Regions from separate parts of the Homo sapiens genome. Here all the other regions are linked to region 2. The links are contacts of gene promoters, found by promoter capture Hi-C in human tissues and cell types (Jung and others, 2019). All regions are on one chromosome and are shown on one strand. Each heading gives the region's core, a stretch centred on a gene start or on the middle of the fragment in contact. The rest is flanking DNA. Distances are from core to core; before and after follow the strand shown. Region 1 overlaps COL23A1 (collagen type XXIII alpha 1 chain). Region 2 holds the start of RUFY1 (RUN and FYVE domain containing 1). Region 3 holds the start of HNRNPAB (heterogeneous nuclear ribonucleoprotein A/B).

What was found. The method cuts DNA at HindIII sites, captures the fragments that hold promoters and counts their contacts. A contact is called where the count stands out against the background at its distance.
Region 1: a fragment that was not itself captured here is called in contact with the fragment with the promoter of RUFY1 in region 2 in 1 of the 25 tissues and cell types used here (lymphoblastoid cells).
Region 3: the fragment with the promoter of HNRNPAB here is called in contact with the fragment with the promoter of RUFY1 in region 2 in 1 of the 25 tissues and cell types used here (dorsolateral prefrontal cortex).

What each region holds. Positions count from the first base shown.
Region 1 is chr5:178,283,052-178,286,882 of GRCh38, reverse strand. The region is part of intron 5 of COL23A1 (collagen type XXIII alpha 1 chain); the gene reads left to right. Among named protein-coding and RNA genes, the nearest start is that of PHYKPL, 52 kb to the right of the region's middle. RefSeq lists enhancers at 1-245, 246-791. The HindIII fragment of the contact is 7,014 bases long and covers 1-3,831 here.
Region 2 is chr5:179,548,222-179,552,022 of GRCh38, reverse strand. RUFY1 (RUN and FYVE domain containing 1) reads right to left here and starts at 1,469. Exons shown (of 18, transcript NM_025158.5): 1 at 1,144-1,469. The coding sequence starts at 1,453. All of the region lies in intron 4 of LOC128966623 (a long non-coding RNA gene), which reads right to left. LOC105377762 (a long non-coding RNA gene) reads left to right here and starts at 1,519. Exons shown (of 4, transcript XR_941315.4): 1 at 1,519-2,079. RefSeq lists a silencer at 835-1,544. The HindIII fragment of the contact is 12,755 bases long and covers 1-3,801 here.
Region 3 is chr5:178,202,781-178,206,545 of GRCh38, reverse strand. HNRNPAB (heterogeneous nuclear ribonucleoprotein A/B) reads right to left here and starts at 2,013. Exons shown (of 8, transcript NM_031266.3): 1 at 1,806-2,013; 2 at 1,500-1,731; 3 at 536-704. The coding sequence starts at 1,708. RefSeq lists silencers at 1,040-1,449, 1,480-1,589, 1,610-1,829, 2,130-2,199. The HindIII fragment of the contact is 21,768 bases long and covers 1-3,765 here.

The DNA of each region.
Region 1 (3,831 bases), core at 908-3,407, 1.3 Mb after region 2:
TCTTCTCCATTGTTTCCTCTGAGCAAAGTGACCCAGCGGTCCGGTCCGTTCCCCACCAGCCTCGAGCATCGGAGAGGATGCTGCCTGCTGCCCCGGGGGAGGGGCAGGGGGCTTGTTCTCAGCCACACCAGAGCAGGTGCCAGGGTCTGCGTCCCACAGAGGCCTCTTCTCCCTCACTCCTTCCTCCCAGGACCCAGTTGGGTGCCGGCAGCTGGCCCTGTGGCCGACAGGCAGGAGGCTGGGTGCGGATGGAGTAGCTGGGCGTGGCTCTCATCTCTGCAGCTCACTCGCTGTGAAGCCTGGGGAAAGGAAAGCCCCTTGGCTTAGAGCACCCAGAACGCGAGCCAGGCCAAACCCGGGGCTGCTGTCCCTGGGGCCATGACAGGACTGTCGGGAATTAAAGACGAAGCTGAGTGTGGGGGTGGTATCGGGCTCCCTCACACCTGGGCCTGGCCTGGAGAAGGGGCGCTGTGACTGTCGGGGCTGGGAACGGAGAGAAGGATGTGTGTGGAGCCCCGCGGGCGTCCCTCAGGCTTGACACTGGGAGCTTTCTTGGAAGGAAGAGAGCTGGGGTCCAGCAAGCCCCCCCACTTCCTCTGTGTAGGCAGCTCTGGCAGCCGTGCCCCTGGTCCTACCAGCAGCTCCCCAGTCACTGGGAGGCCTGAGCAGGCTGGGCCTGGTGAGGGATGAGGGCACCCTGTCAACGTCTCCAGGAAGCTGGTATCACAGCCCATGATGGCCTTCTTCCTGAGGTCGCCCAGCCCCAGCTTACACACAGACCCCCATTTCCACACGGAGGTAGGCGTCTTCCCTGGGTGGGCTGGATTCAGGGCGTTCACGTCGCCAGCACCAGGAGCAAGACCAGCTGTGTGCCTCCAGACCCCTCGTTCTCACACCACCACCTGGGCCACTCCTTCCGTGAGACCCACAGGGTGGGGCAGACACCCCGCTCAGCTTCCCCATTCGAGGAAGGGGAGGACCTTTCGCAGGCTCCTGGGGCCCAGTCCTGAGTGGAAATTCCTATCTCTTGGCCTGTGGAGGACAGGAGGGCTCTGCCCGGCTCTCAGCCTGGGGTATATTTGCAGATGGCTCCATGTGGTCATCCCAGAGGCTGGGGTGACTGCCTCGTGCTGAAGGGCCTGGGCCACCTCGGAGGCCCCTCATGTGCAGAGGATCACCGTGGCTTTGAGTCAGTCACCTGTGTGGACTTGGGCAGGCTACTTGGGCCTGGGGAGATCACACCTGCAGAGCGGGGTTAACTGAGTGTGAGACACAGAGGCCATTTCCAGTCCTGTGTGTGGCAGCCCTTCTATAAATATCACTGTCTTTCCTCATCGTTGACAGTCTCAATAGAAGAAAAGATGGGTTTCAGAAATCATTCTAACCTACTCAGTATAAATTTGCAATATTTGGAAAGAAAAACACCTTTGAGAATGGTCGGTTTTAGAAAAAGCATTTTTTGGTTTTTTGTTTTGTTTGTTTGTTTTTTGTGTTTTTTTGTAGCTTAGTAAACTTCAGGACCAGCCTCAGGGAGGACTTACTTTTTTCTCTTTGTGCCAATATCTTATCACTTTCTAAGAGCAAGGATAGAGTCTGGCAGGAGACTCTGGTGGTGGAGACTGTCGGTGCTTTTCTGGATTAACTCAGGCCAGCTGCCTCAGCTGAAACCAGGTCCATGTGTGGACCTGATAGGAGTGGCTGGAGGACACGGGGCATAGGGGCCACCCACATCTGTGGGGCAGGTTGTGGACTTGAGGAAGTCAGAGCCGACAAGGGCCCGGCTCGCCCTGTCCATGCCCTCCGTGTACAGAGGCTGGCCTGTCCTCTCTGCTCCCGAGGATGCATTAACAGCCTCTTCTGATTACAACAAAAAGCATGTTTATTGTAAAACATTTGGACAATGGAGAAAAACACAAGGAAAAAGCATCTCTAATTCTGCCACTCACAGATAAGTCCTCTTATCTTGGTGGTGGTTCTAGTATTTCTTATATCCAAGTTTGCTTTTATATTTATTGCTTTAAAAATAGAATTACAAGTGCCTTCTTAGTGCAGTGGGCAGCACGTCAGTCTCATAATCTAAAATACAATTACATTGGACATACTTTTTTGTACTATTTTTTTCACTAAATATAGCATGAGACTTTTCTGCATCATTAAAAATCCTTAGAGAATGTAATGGCTACATTGTATTTGATCCGATATATCATTTATTTAGTCTCAAAGTTAAATTATTTATATTGACAATTTTTCACCCTTACAGTCAACATCCTGGGAATAAATATAGCTTATTTCCATGATTATCTCCTTAGAATAAATGACTAAAAGTGGAATTGCTGCACCAAAGGGTTTGCACATGTGTAAGGCTTTTGATGTGTATTGCCAAATTGCCCTCCAGGAGACTGTACTAATTTACATTCCCACCAACAATGAATAAATGCTGTCTATTTCCCCAAATGCTGGCCAACTGTGGGTATTACACTTTTAAAGCTATGCCAATATAAGTTTTAAAATATATACATATATGTATGAATATTGTTTTAATTTAGGGCATATTTTAATTAGAACTAGTCAGAGATTAAACTAGTTTTGATAAGGTTTGTGTAATCCTGTCACCTCGTGGTAAAGGTTGGAATTGCAGGCATAGAGTTTAAAGAGGAAATCACCCGTGTTTAAGAGCTTTTGGATCCCAACTGGTCCAGGGACGGAAGACATCATAGAATCAACAGCATAGGGATAATTCCTAACTCAGAACATTGTGGATCAAAAGTTGAGCCTTCAGAGGAGCCCTAGGCACGGCACTCTTGCATTTTGGGGTAGTAATCAGTATTTATGTGGATAAAGTGATTTGCCCATCTCAGAAATAGGAGGCTTGGCTGTGTTCAACAAATCTGGTGGGTGTCATACCCTGGCCTGGGCACTGGGGTGGCACAAAGATGGATCAGGCCCAGTCACAGTCTTTAGAGAACCATATGGGAATGGGAGTTTGCCCTGGGATAGAGAGGAATGAATAATTAGAAGCTCAATGTCATCTTCCCGGAGGTATCTTGTTTATCATGAGCGCTTTTTCCTCTCTAAACTGTGGCATCTGACTAAGATGAAACCACCTGTCACTCATGCAGGGCTTAATCTTGCCTGAACTTTGACTTACACAGAAAACATTAGACTTTCTCATCATCTCCTATTTACAATGTCACAATGTTTGCTTTTCCTCTTCTTTGGTAGTTTGATTGTCTTAACTCTTAACATTAAGCTTTAGTGACTTTCTGGTTTGTTTTACACATTCAGAAAGCTATTTAAACATTTCTTCGATATCATTTAATGTACTTACAAGAGAATAAAACAAGGATGTGATGAGAGTGTTGGCTGGGTGAATGGACAGGTATAATTTGGATTAAATAATCAGAAGGTTCTTGAGGAAAGTAACATTGAAGTGAGATTTAAATGATGAAAAAGCTGCAGAGATCTTGGGGGAGATCCCGGCAGAGGAAAAAGCAAGTGCACAGGTCATGAAGTTGGAGCAAGCTTTGTGTGTTCAGGTACACTCAAGGTCAGTGTGGCAGGAGTGAGTGAGCAGGTGACAGGAAACGATAGGAAGTGAAGCCAAAGAAGCTCCCAGAGCTGCACCAAGTAGAACCAAGACAGAGGCGAGGGCTGGGGGATGGAACTTGACTCTGTGTTTATAGAAATCACTTGTCCCGGCCGGGCGCGGTGGCTCACGCCTGTAATCCCAGCACTTTTGGAGGCCAAGGCGGATGGATCACTTGAGGTCAGGAGTTCAAGATCAGCCTGGCCAATACGGTGAAACCCTGTCTCTACCAAAAAAAATAAAAA
Region 2 (3,801 bases), core at 220-2,719:
CAGCTAATTTTTTGTATTTTTAGTAGAGACGGGGTTTCACCATGTTGGCCAGGATGGTCTCGATCTCTTGACCTCGTGATCCACCCGCTTCGGCCTCCCAAAGTGCTGGGATTACAGGCGTGAGCCACCGCTCCCGGCCGAGGAACTCAATTTTTAATTCAATTTAAAAGTACTGAATTTCAATTGATTCAGTTAGAAATTGAGGAATCCGGCCGGGCGCGGTGGCTCAAGCCTGTAGTCCCAGTACTTTACGAGGCCGAGGCAGGTGTATCACAAGGTCAGGAGTTCAAGACCAGCCTGGCCAAGATGGTGAAACCCCGTTTCTACTAAAAATATGGGAGGGGGGTGGGGGCGGGGAACTTAGCCGAGCGTGGTGGTGGGCACCTGTAATCCCAGCTACTCGGGAGGCTGAGGCGGGAGGGAGGATCGCTTGAACCCGGGAGGCAGAGGGTGCAGTGAGCCGAGATCGCACCACTGCACTCCAGCCTGGGCGACAGAGCAAGACCCGGTCTCAAAAAAATAAAAATAAATAAAAACAAAAACACACACACAAAAACATATGCGTGCTGTTGTATTGGATAGCACAGCTCTGGATGTCTGGCGTTAGAGGGCTAAGTTACTTAACTCTTACTATCACTGATATGCTGGCACTCTGTTCATTACAAGGGCTGAAAAGGTCTTTAAGAGATCATCGGGTGACTTTAAAATCCCCATCTCACAGGCAGAGGTGAGCGGAGGCGCCGCTGGTCCGCTGCGCGCAGGGCCCACGCCCTCCCAACACCCGCCGGCGCTCCACTCCCGCACTGAACGGCTGAAAAGCAGAACAGTGCTGGCTCCGTTTCGTGTGTGGAGTTACTACAGAGTTCCGAAGCCCGGACGCGCACACGTCCTTCACCTAGTTAGTGGGAGAGCATAGAGGCGCGGGTGCGGGAGCGCGCTCAGGCACGCGGGGCTGCGGGGGGCGGTCTCGGCTGGGCCGCCGGAGTAAAGACCCAGGCGCAGCCAGGCGCCGCCCGCCCGCCAACAGCTCGCGTAACCTCCCGGAACGGCCAGTGCCCTCCCAGCCCGGCCCCCACCGCGCCCGCGCCGGCGGCCAGCGGGGACACGCGAGTCCGCCGCGGGACAGACCCGGCCCGAGCCTACCTGCGCGCGCCGTGCCGTCCCCGCTGTCCCCGCCGCCCAGCCCCGCGGCCGCGCGCAGCGCGCTCCCGCAGCTCGCCGACAGGTTCCCGGTGGCCCTGCGTGCCAGGGTCAGGATGGGCGCCGACCAGCCCTCGGCCGCCCGCGGCCTCGTTGCGCTCCGCAGGTCGCCTGGGCCGGGCAGCTGGCTTCGGTCCACGATCTCAAACTCTTCTCCCGGCTCAAGCGCTGACCCGGGCCCCGGCCCCGGCTCCAGCTCCGGCTCCAGCTCCCGCCCCCGCCCAGCAGCGCAGCCGCCTTCCCGGTCGGCCATCTTGGCCGTGTCATGTGACCCAGCGGGCGGGCGGGCGCGGGGTGGGGGCGGGCGGGCATCGCCTTTGCCTTAGGTGGGGGAGATTTTTCTCCCTCTTCACCGCCTCGCCTTCCCTCTGTTTCGAAAGGTTCGGGAAAGTCCAAGTCATAACATAAAAAGTGTGCGTATTCCCGGCCGCCGGCAGGACCTGTTCGCGGGGAAGTTCCTCTTGAACTTTCTCCGAGGACAGTTGTGCACCCTGCCCGGCGCTTCACGGGGTTCCCTGGCCGTCGTTGTCTTTGTGACACCATTTCCTCTTTTAAATTTTCATTTCATGGTCTATATTTTCCACTTCGTCATTTTTCTGTAGCACTCATTAGAACAAGCCCCGAAAGGGCGACTAAGGAAACGCACAGGCGAGGCAGGAAAGCAGGAATTTTTTTTTTTTTTTAATCTAATGACTATGACGGCTTGGCAAGAAAGAGTGCACGATAGTGGACTGGAAATCAGAGGTGGCTTCTCCTATTGATTAGTTAAGTGGGATAACAAAAACCGACCTCATTATTAAATAAGATTTGCAGTAAGGACCACATGGCAGATGTTAGCGATTGTGACTACTATCTCTGGTATCCAACTGTGTGGCCTGGGTAAGTCACTATACACTCAGTCTGTTTCTTCACTTGGAAAAGAAAGGAATTTGAGTAAGTACAAAGGAAAATTTTGGCCGGGCGCGGTGGCTCACGCCTGTAATCCCAGCACTTCGGAAGGCCCAGGCGGGCCTTTAGTAGGACGAAACCCCGTCTCTACTAAAATACCAAAACAACAACAACAACAACAACAAAAAACCAGCCAGATGTCGTGGCGGGACAGCTCTACTCCTAGCTCCTTGGGGGGCTGAGAGTGGGAGGATCGCTTGAGCCCGGGAGGTCGATCCCACAGTGAGCGGAGATCATGGCCACTGCACTCCAGGCTGGGCGACAAAGTGAGACCCTGTCTCAGAAAAAACACTAAAATTTACTAGCACTTAACACTTTGCAAAGTGAGGCAACATGAGCCACACCAAACCAGCAGAGCTGTTTTGATTCCCAGAATGTTTACAAATCTTAAAACTTGTTGCCAATATTTAGAAATCAAAAGATTTCACATAAGAATCTGGATTTTAGCTTTCTCTGGAATCACTGGAATATTTGGTAACTCATGGCATATTCCCAGATGGCAACAAACTGTTGGGAATAAACTGTGCTGCCCCTTTAGACGCCCAGCTGCTCCCTGGACCTGTCTTGGTCCAGCCCACTTCACTAGGTTGCATGATATGTCTGGTCCCTGAAAGGCCAGTTCTCAGTGAAGGGATACCACTTCATCTAGGAGTGTTTTGGGAATTTGTGGAGTTGGTGTTTGAGTTGTGTAATGACTGAGGGCATACTACCAGTCTTTTTTGTTTGTTTGTTTTCGTACGGAGTCTCGCTCAGTCGCCCAGGCTGGAGTGCAGTGGCGCGATCTCGGTTCACTGCAAGCTCCACCTCCCGGGTTCACGCCATTCTCCTGCCTCAGCCTCCCGAGTAGCTGGGACTACAGGTGCCCGCCACCACGCCCGGCTAATTTTTTTTTTTTTTTGTATTTTTAGTAGAAACGGGGTTTCACCGTGTTAGCCAGGATGGTCTTGATCTCCTGACCTCGTGATCCGCCAGCCTCGGCCTCCCAAAGTGCTGGGATTAGAGGCGTGAGCCACCACGCCCGGCCTGGTCTTGTTTGTTTGTTTGTTTTTGAGGCCAAGTCCTGCTCTGTCACCAAGCTGGAGTGCAGTGGCGCAATCTCGGCTCACTGTAACCTCTGCCTACCGGGTTCAAGCGATTTTCCTGCCTCAGCCTCCCAAGTAGCTGGGACTGCAGGGGCGTGGCGCCACACTTGGCTAATTTTTGTACTTTTAGTAGAGACGGGGTTTCACCATGTTCGCCAGGATAGTCTCGATCTCTCGACCTCGTGATTCCCCCGCCTCGGCCTCTCAAAGTGTTGAGATTACAGGCGTGAGCCACTGAGCCCGGCCCTACTAGTCTTTACTGGATGCATAGACAGGGATGAAGATAGTCTAGAATAACAGCATTGTCCCGAATCCTTCATGACTTTCCAATGCTACTGGACATTTATGTAGGTGAAAAGTTTGTTTATAATGATCAGGGCGTGGAACCGAATTCCATTTTGTATAAAAACATTAACTCTTTTTTGGGGGAACAGTTTCAACATTTATCAGGCAAGGTTATTCTTCAGTAACAACCCCCAAATCTCAATGGCTTAACCTAAAAGCTGGTTTCTCATCATGCTACATGTCAATGTAGATGGGGTGAGTACTCTGCCCAACTCATTGTAGTCTC
Region 3 (3,765 bases), core at 764-3,263, 1.3 Mb after region 2:
AGAAAACAGTCCTCACACTTAAGCCTTTGATCATGCTCTTCCTGCCCAAGCAGTCCCAGCGTGAGGCCCATCTCCAGAAGCGAAGCAGCAGGGACTCGGAGCATAGGCTGAAGATGGGCCACAGGGGAAGGAATCCTCCCTCCACTCCCTACTAGCTGTGACCTCTTCTACTTACATTTCTGAGCCTTAGGGTTTTGGTTTTTGTCCTGTAAAATGGGGCTAAAAGCCTATCATACCAATCATGGACTCTCTTGTAATCCTCCCAGATGTTTAGCGCCGTACCCAGAATAGGCACATAAAAGGTAATGAATGTCAACTGTCATCTTCCCGAACCACTCCAGCACATTCTCTCACTCCCAGCTTAATCTGTATTTTCATCCCCTCAAAAACCGGAACATAACCTCCGGCTTTGGGTTTTGCCCAAAGCACTTAAATCACATGCAGACCACACAAACTAGTCATGCTTTAAGAAAGGTGTCCTCTTAGAATTCAAATCGTTTCCACTGAGACTGCTGAAATCCAGTACCCAGCTTACCTTCTCCACACTGGCTGCATCTTTGAACAGGATAAACCCAAACCCTCTTGACCGTCCAGTGTTGGGATCCATTTTTATTGTACAGTCAACGACCTCTCCAAATTTAGTAAAATAGTCTTTTAAATCTTTTTTGCTAGTATCCCAGCTCAGGCCACCAACGAACATTTTTCTGAAATGGTAGGGTGAGACACACGGCAACAAGTCTTGTAAGCAAGCTGTGATTTTGGAAAGGACTGGCCCTGGCAAAGTTCTCACGAAGTCTACAGCTACCCTTAGAGTCTGCAAGGAGCACCTTAGAAAGATGTTAAATCTCCACTACCCTCCAAATTGAACTCAACCAGGACCCTAACGAGGCTTAACAAGGCTCTGCAGCCCCAGCCTGTGAGAAGCAAAGAAGGGACCACCTCACCAGGGGTATGGGACCTAACCACTCATAACTGGAAATTCATGTGTTCTACAACCATGTAGCAAAGGGCCAGCGTCTCCACCAACTCCTGAGAACTCGTTTCAAGGAACTCGATGTTTCCGGGGACCAAGCCCGCCCAGGGTTCAGACCGTGACTCCGCCCCCGGGAGAGGCGGAGGAGGGAGGTCCGGGCCCCGGCTCGCGCCAACTCCGCCCACGCAGCCGCCGGCGCGGCCCAAGACGCCGCCGGGCCCCGGGTCCGAGCGCTTTCCCTCTTCCGGGCCATCCGCCCGCCCCTGCGCCGGCTCCGGCCCTGGCCCTGGCCCTGGCAGCGCGCGAGCGGCCCCGGGGCGGCGCCAAAGTCGACCCAACAAACTCCCGCAAACTCCAGCGCGAGTGGCAGCGCCAGGCCCGGCCCGCGAACGCAGCGGCGACAGTCCGCGGGCCGCACCAGCCCCGACCCGGGCCAGGCCGCCGCCCCTCCCCCCGCCGCGTGGCGCCAACAAAAGGCGGCCCCGGAACAAAGGCGGCGCCCCCGTCCGCCCGCGGCCGCACCTACCCCGCGTCCTCCTCGTTCTTGCTGGCGTTGATCTGGTCGCCCTCGGCGCCGTTCTGATTCCCGCTCGGGGGCGCCGCGGTCGCGCCTCCAGCCCCCGCCGCGGCGCCCGTGCCAGCCCCGGCCGGCGACTCGCCTTCGGGGACGGCCTCATGTCCGTTCTCGGTGGCGCCCGTCGTCTCCATGGGCTGCTCCTCGCCCGCTTCCGACATGCTAGGCCGAGGCGCGGCGGCTCCTGCAACCAGCGGCGACAGCGCGTCAGGCCGGCGCGGCTCCCGCCAGAGCTCCCGCCCGCCGGCCGCCGCTCACCTCGCCGCCGATGACGCCGCGGGGCCCGCTCGTCCCCACCCGCAGGGGAAGGCGCCGCAGGCTCGGCCGCACTCAAGCTCGCGCTGCTGAGGCCTCGCCCCAGTCAGCCCACGGAGCTGCTCCAACTGTGTCTCCTCCTCCTTGGCCGCCGCCGCACGGGAACCCACCGACCAACAGCCAAGCTCCGTCCCGCGCGGTGCCGCCGCCTGACAATGCCGACTCGTGGCGCCCTTTATAATGCCGGAGCCGGGTGCCACATCGCAACAAACTGCACACTCATTGGCTGCTCAAGTCCGTCACTCAACCTAGCTTCAGCGTCCCATTGGCCGCCACGGCGCGCGCGCTCTAGACCTGGGCGGGCTTTGTCCTCATTTTAGAACGCGCGCGAGTCCGGCCGCTACGGAGGGCTCCCGAAGCCGGGCGGGACGGCGCCGGGTCCAGGGCGGCGGGCAGCTACAGCACATCGGTGGGAGGGCCTAATCGGATTGTAAGCTCGTCGAGGCCGCTGGTCTCTTGCTCTCGAGGACTCCATCCCAGCATTGGCAGCCTCCGCCTCCCCATGTCCCAAAAGAGGAAACTGGGCTGGAGAAAGTTTCGCAGCCCAAGGACGCGTGGCTGGAAGTGGCAGAACCCGGGCTTCCGAGGTTGGGCGAGTGGGGTCCTCCAAGGCCCTCAGCACGGGTCGGAGGGATTGGGACTGAACCCGCCATCCCCCTGGACCTTGGTGCCCTCCAAGCCCCGCGCTCGCGCCCTGTCCGTCGCCTCCCCCAGAGATGCTCTGCAGGGACGATGAGACCTTGGTGTTCCCCGGTTCTCTGTCCCCTGGCACCACCTGAACGATTGACATCGCATTTGTACTTTTGTTTACTTAAATTTTTTCCTGTAAATCATTTGTCTTTCTTTTTCTTCCTTTTTATTATTTTTTTTTTTTTGATGGAGTCTTGCTCTTGTCGCCCAGACTGGAGTGCAATGGCGCGATCTCGGCTCACCGCAACCTCCGCCTCCCGGGTTCAAGCGATTCTCCTGTCTCAGCCTCCCGAGTAGCTGGGATTACAGGCATGCGCCACCACGCCCGGCTAATTTTTTTGTTTTTTTAGTAGAGACGGGGTTTCACCATGTTGGCCAGGATGGTCTCGATCTCCTGACCTCGTGATCCGCCCGCCTGGGCCTCCCAAAGTACTGGGATTACAGGCGTGAGCCACCGCGCCCGGCCTTTTTTTTTTTTTTTTTTTTTTTAAACAAATACGGAGGCCGGGCGCGGTGGCTCCCGCCTGTACTCCCAGCACTTTGGGAGGTCCAGGCGGGCGGATCACGAGGTCAGGAGATCGAGACCATCCTGGCGAACATGGTGAAACCCCGTCTCTACTAAAAATACAAAAAAATTAGCCGGGCGTGGTGGTGGGCGCCTGTAGTCCCAGTTACCGGGAGGCTGAGGCAGGAGAATGGCGTGAACCCGGGAGGCGGAGCTTGCAGTGAGCCGAGATCTCGCCACTGCACTCCAGCCTGGGCGACAGAGCGAGACATCGTCTCAAAAACAAAACAAAACAAATACACCACTCGTGAACTCACGAGGTAAAGGACAGGGTGGGGGCGTTGTTCTCTTCCTAATACACAAAACTCCTTTATATTATCTCCTTGACCACAAAATTTTAAAGGCCTCGGTAATCCCGTTATTCCTTTTAATCATATGGGTGGTGGGCCCCAAGGCAAGCAGGATTACAACCTCTGGAGCCTGCAGGTTACCAAATAGCAACCCAGAACACAAGGAACTAGCGTTTCCAGTGGATTCCTGCAGCCAGGACCAGTGTGGTGGGCTGGGCATTCCATTTTCTCTTCTGTATCTTAACAACCAAAGTAAGGTGGTATGGTCACCAATTTTATTTATTTTATTTTTTGACACAAGGTTTTGTTCTGTAACCCAGGCTGGAGTCCAGTGGCACGATCACGGCTTACTGCAGCT